Regions from separate parts of the Homo sapiens genome. Here region 1 is linked to region 2. Evidence: promoter capture Hi-C in human tissues and cell types (Jung and others, 2019). All regions are on one chromosome and are shown on one strand. The core of a region is centred on a gene start or on the middle of the fragment in contact, and the rest is flanking DNA. Distances in the headings are between cores, read along the strand shown. Region 1 holds the start of CABIN1 (calcineurin binding protein 1). Region 2 holds the start of SPECC1L-ADORA2A (SPECC1L-ADORA2A readthrough (NMD candidate)).

What was found. The method cuts DNA at HindIII sites, captures the fragments that hold promoters and counts their contacts. A contact is called where the count stands out against the background at its distance.
Region 1: a contact is called between the fragment with the promoter of CABIN1 here and the fragment with the promoter of SPECC1L-ADORA2A in region 2, in 2 of the 25 tissues and cell types used here (dorsolateral prefrontal cortex and heart right ventricle).

Annotation. Positions count from the first base shown.
Region 1 is chr22:24,009,907-24,012,941 of GRCh38, forward strand. CABIN1 (calcineurin binding protein 1) reads left to right here and starts at 1,398. Exons shown (of 37, transcript NM_012295.4): 1 at 1,398-1,461. The HindIII fragment of the contact is 7,958 bases long and covers 1-3,035 here.
Region 2 is chr22:24,269,463-24,272,443 of GRCh38, forward strand. It overlaps SPECC1L-ADORA2A (SPECC1L-ADORA2A readthrough (NMD candidate)), which reads left to right and starts at 1,355. Exons shown (of 20, transcript NR_103546.1): 1 at 1,355-1,521. SPECC1L (sperm antigen with calponin homology and coiled-coil domains 1 like) reads left to right here and starts at 1,369. Exons shown (of 17, transcript NM_015330.6): 1 at 1,369-1,521. It also overlaps the pseudogene RPS10P29. RefSeq lists a silencer at 1,158-1,687 and an enhancer at 1,748-1,827. The HindIII fragment of the contact is 12,728 bases long and covers 1-2,972 here.

The DNA.
Region 1 (3,035 bases), core at 148-2,647, 260 kb before region 2:
AGAGTGCTCTCTCCCCACTGTGGCCCTGAGCTTTGCCTCACGGTAACACTGTGCTGCATGACACTCCAGCATGATCTGCATGTTTCTCACCTCCGGACCTTCCCCACACAACTTTCTTGCTGCTTGGACCACCCTTCCCACCTATTTTCAACTGTTTCTCTCCAGCGCATCTTTCATGATAAGGCTTGAGTGGAAGCTGTATCCGAGGCTGAAGGTTATCCATGCAGCTTTGAAACCATCTGTTTATGCTTCTGTTTACCCCCCAAATACTGTTTACCCCAATACTCAAAGTCAAGGTTGGTGACTCAACAATTTTCAGAACTTCTAGCTTATCAGTATAGCTTTATTGTACTGAACTGAGTTTTTCACCATGCTGTTACTGTCTTTGAGGTTAAAAAGCCCCCAACATTCACTCCTATTTGAATCATCTGTGCAAGACTCAAGCAGCTATGAATTCAACCACAGTGTAAAGTTCTTCCCTACAATGCTTTATTGTTATTCTAGCTCCCAAGAGAGTACCATCTTTCAGCCCAAGACCCTTGACAGAACCCCTTCAACTCTGTCGCCTTTTTTCATCTCTGGAATTCTGACACCACCCATGACCCCTCTTCTTGTTCATTTACTAGGTTTTGTTCCTTTTTTTCCTTTTGTTTCAATATCCTATTGTATCTGTTCCTTTTGGGCTTCACATCCTTTTTGGAAAGAGAGGCACAGGTAATATAATGAATGAGGATGCTCCTCCTCCCTGGTTCCCTCTAAGTCAAGTTTCTCCAACGCGCTGGTCTGCTTGGCTTTGAATGCGGCTCAACACAAATTCATAAACTTTCTTACAACATTTTGAGATTTTTTGGTGATTTTTATTTTTATTATTTATTTATTTATTAACTTATCAGCTATCCTTAGTGTTAGTGTATTTTATGTGTGGCCCAAAACAATTCTTCCAACGTGGCCCAGGGAAACCAAAAGATTGGACACCCCGCTCTAAGTGTTCCCCAAGTTTCCACTGTTTTCAGAGCACATGTCCCAGGTAATAACACACAGCCCATCATTTAGTGACTGCTCAGGGTGCAAGCTGTGGAGAAGAGAGTCCGACTACGAGCTGGTGCTCTAAGCCTCCAGCACGCTAGGACTGACGACGGGGATCCGGAAACAACAAGCTCCACTCCCGCAACACACACACACACACACACACACACACACACACACACACACACACGCACACGCACACGCGCACGCGCGCACACACGCGCACACACGCGCGCACGCGCGCGCGCGCCGCCCAAGGGTAGCCGTCTGCAGGGCCCCAGCTAAGCAGCCCGCGGAGAGCGAGCGGCGCGTGCGCCCCCGCTGATTGGCTGGCACAACCGGCACCGGAGCCAATGGGAGCACGCCTTGTTGTCAGGCGCGCAGCCGGACGGCGCGGTGGTCGGGACAGACTGGCCGTTGCTGTGGAGACGCCTGGTGAGTTCCTGGAAGGCTGGTTTGAAGGCGGTGCCGGGGTGGGGGTGAGGCTCAGCAGAGCCCGGGGCACAGGCCGGAGGGGCTGCAGGCGCGAGGCTGGGTTACGTGAGGAAGCTGGGGGTTTCGCGGGCAGCTTTAGAGCCCCAGTCAGGGAAACCGAGGCCGGGCTTCCTGGCTGCCTCGCGAGCCTCTTCATGGCTCTCGCCGCCGCCCTGAGGTGCCTAGAATGGGTTCCGGCCTCCGGGGAGGTTCCCAGTAACCGCAGGAGCCACCATTGATTTGGCGTCTGCTGGGTGCAAAGCCCAGCGCGCTAACCCTTTACTCGCGACCTTTCGCTTCACCTTCACAGCAGCCCTGCGAGGTGAGTGTTGTTATTGGTGCCATTTACAGGGGTGGAAACTGAGGCCGCGGGTAGGTGAAATGATTTGCTCCAAGTCACCCAGTGGGTGAGCGCGACTCCAGACTGAAAATTTTGACCGTTCTGCTTCACTGCCTCCCCGCAAGAGGCGGGCCCTGGCCAGATGGAACTCACCTGGCATTCCCAAGGTATCTGCACAAGTGGCTTTGGGAGTCACTTAACTCTTCAGGACCTGGGTTATTACAGGTTATAAGTGTGGGACCGTCGGATTCCATGTGGCTAAGATTCTTTCTATGTGATTATTGTGGTTAGAAATAGAATATGCTTAGAACAGTCTCGTTCAGCGGTCGGCAAACTTTTGTTGTAAATATATCAGTGTTTACATTGTTATATTGTAAGTATAATGAGTATAATAGTATTCATAATAGTAGTTTAGGCTTGGGGGGTCCATACTCTGTCTACTTAACTGTAGCGATGTAGTGTGGATACAGCCAAAGACAATACATAACAGACTAGCTGCGTCGCAATAAAATTTTAATTATAGGGACCGAAGTTTTAATTTTATATATTGTTAATATAATTTTCACGTGTCATGATTTTTTTTCCCAAATATGAAAAAATGTAAAAACCATTCTTTGCTCGTGGGCTGTACAAAAAGGGTGGGCTGGTTAGCTTGCAGAACCCTCATCTAGTACAAAGCCTCATACATGAGGGGAAACAGACTGAGAGACTGACATCTATGTCAAGTCAGTCACACAGCCAGGGCACTGCCACCACTGAGCTTAAGACATAGGCTTCCCACCTTCCAGGCCAGGAAACATCCCCAGTTATCACTCTGGATCAGGGTGCTGAGGTCTGAAGGTGTGCTACTCTTTATCGTGTTCTGAGGCCATGGAAACTATATTCTAAGGGGTTTGGAAACTTATTAGCTTAGACTAATAAGCCTGGTGAATGTGCTGCTATCTGAGGAAATGCAGCTGCTGGGCTGGGAGTCAGAAATGAATAGATATTTTTCTTTTTCATGATTATTCAATAGCTTTTGTGTGTGTGTGTGTGACGGAGCCTTGGTCTGTCGCCCAGGCTGGAGTGCAGTGGCATGATCTCGGCTCACTGCAATCTCCGCCTCCCGGGTTCAAGCAGTTCTCCTGTCTCGGCCTCCCGAGTAGCTGGGACTACAGACACCCGCCACCATGCTTGGCTAATTTTTGTATTTTTA
Region 2 (2,981 bases), core at 105-2,604:
GTAGGTATCTCTGTCGGCTTCTCCTCTTGTGAGTCTTGCAGGTCGCTCACCCTCCAGACCTTTAGACCGAGGCCTGCCAGTCCCTGGACGGCTGCGGCGTAGGGTGGCAGGCACAATCTCCAGGGGCAGATGAAGGTAATCACGGAGATACTGGATATCCTCATTGGTAAGGTACCAGTAGACATGTCTCCAGGCAAACTGTTCCTTCACGTAGTAGCCTCGGGACTACATGACAGGAAGGTTGGGCACACACATTCTTTTTTTTTTGAGAGGAGTCTCACTCTGTCGCCCAGGCTGGAGTGCAGGGGCGCGATCTCGGCTCACTGCAACCTCCGCCCCCTGGGTTCAAGCAATTCTCCTGCCTTGGCCTCCCGACTAGCTGGGATTACAGGTGTCTGCCACCGCGCCTGGCTAATATTTTTGTATTTTTAGTAGACACGGGTTTCACCATCTTGGCCAGGCTGGTCTTGAACTCCTGACCTCGTGATCCGCCCGCCTCGGCCTCCCAAAGTGCTGGGATTACAGGCCTAAGCCACCGCGCCCGGCCGGGCACATTCTTGTCTGCCAACTCCAGGTGCTTAGGCATGTGGACATCCTTCTTGACCACCGTGACTTCCTCTTTAAAAAGGAGTTCATAAATGGCAATCCGGTTTTTCTTAGGCATCAGCATTCTGGGGAGGAGCAGCCGCTAAGGTGGCAGGGTGGCCCGGATGGGGGCCGATGGAACTCGAACTCCCCCAGAATTTCTTTAATATTTTATATATATATATATATATATATACATATATATATGTATATATATACACATATATATACATATATATATACGTATATATATATGTATATATATACATATATATATACGTATATATATATACGTATATATATATGTATATACATATATATATACATATATGTTGCTCGCTTATTCTTTTTGTCTGTTCCCTTATGTACCGGGAGTGCCAGGAGGACAGGGCTTTGTGTTTTCCTCACTGCTGTCTGGCTCATGCATAGCACAGTCCTTGGCACACGGTAAACACGCTGAGGAGAACTTTTGGGACTAGCGGACTCTGAGCATCATTCCGCTGGGCCCAGTGGGGCCTCTGAAGGGACCCGCCTTGCCCGGCTCCAGCCCAAGACCTGAGGCATGCGCACCGGCTGGCCGGCTACTTTCTTGACCGGCCAAGTGGCAGAGCGGCTGCGCGACCCAGTGCCGAGACGGACGCGAGCCGGAGATGGGGGAAGGGGAGGGGGTGGTGGTGGGGGACGGCGGCGCCTGCGCAGTGAAGGAATGTAGGCGGGGCCTCCACGACGCCTGCGCAGACGGCCGCAGCCCTGCTGGGCGCGAAGGGGCTGGCCAAGGGCGGGGCCCGCGAGGGAGGCCGGGCGGCCCGGCAAGCGGCGCTGCGGGGTAGGCTGCTTTCCTGAGGCCGGACTCAACGGGTCTCGGCTGAGCCACCGGGTGAGCTCACCGCCCAGCCCAAACCAGGAGATTGCGAGGGAGCGATGCGGTGCAGCGCGGTAAGAGCAGCAGCCGGGTTCCCGCAGTGTTCGCTGGCGGGTTGGTTTATCGCCTCAGCGCCGCCCGCGCTGCCGCGCCCGGGCGTCCCCGCAGACCCCGGCAGGCCCAGCGCCTGCGCCGTCTCTGCTCCTGGGCCCCTCCAGTGTGTCCCGCGCCTGCGCCTTTCCCTTCCCGCGCCGTCCTCGTTCTGGGCTTCGGGGCTTCTGGAACAACCCGCAGGCTTCGCCGCCGAGACCCACTGGCCTTCGTCCGTTGGTGTTGGGGTTCAGCTGGTTCTGGGACCCCGCTTGCGGCTTGACTGTGTGCAGACAGGCCGGGTGCGACCCTCGTGCTTGCCTTTCCGCCGCTCCGGGAGAGGCTGGGGCTGCCGCCCCATCGCCCGGGTCCCTTGCCTGGGGCGGGGACAGCGTTGTTCAGTGGCCCCGAGGGCGCAGAGCGGAGGAGCAGGGGCCACAGGCGGCGGACCCCGGGCCTGCTGCCGGTGCTGCTTCTGCTGTGGCCGGCGCCCGAGGCGGACGGAACGTCCTTTTTTCTTGAGACGTGGTTAATTGCATCAGGTTGGATGTGAATAATCCGGTACCTGTCTGAGGAAATTTTGCGTTTCCAGGAATTTGGTAATTGTATTACCTTAAGTAGTTAAGTCTAAGACATCATAGTCGCGGCACGTTGGGCAAGCTGCCCTGGAGATGACGAAAAGAAATCAGTTTCCAGTAGTTTTAGCCCATTTACAGAACACGCAAAAATTCTGTGATCATTCAAATGCGGGGAACCTTGATTTGTTGATATCCTTGATCATTTGTCCAAGTACCAGAAGGGCGAGGAAAAGATTCCCGTGAACAGCCCAGGTGATTTCAGGGAACAGTGTTTTCTTTTGTCAAAAGAGCCTCTTAAGCCATGATAATATTTCCCAAGCTTATAACAGATACAAGCCTTTAAAAAATGGCATTTGCTGTCACCCAGTAGGACACATCTTGAGATGAAATCAGAGCTGTAGGCTTTGTAGACAACAGCAGTCATTTCTGGTGGCTTCAGGGAGTGGAGGGGGACTGCAATTTTGCCAATGTAGGTGATACCAAAGGGACTATAGTAATTTTTTCTTCGTAATTAAAAACCAGGCCAGGCGCGGTGCCTCATGCCTGTAATCCCAGCACTTTGGGAGGCCGGGGCGGGCGGATCACCTGAAGTCAGGAGTTCAAGACCAGCCTGACCAACATGGTGAAATCCTGTCTCTACTAAAAATACAAAAAGCGCGCGCCTGTAATCCCAGCTACTCAGGAGGGTGAGGCAGGAGAATCGCTTGAACCCGGGAGGCGGAGGTTGCAGTGAGCCGAGTTCGCGCCACTGTACCCCAGCCTGGGCTACAGAGCGAGGCTCCGTCTCAAAAAAACAAAAACCAGATATAACAAGGCCGAGCTCCCTGGCTCACGCCTGTAATCACAGTAGTTTGGGAGGCCGAGGC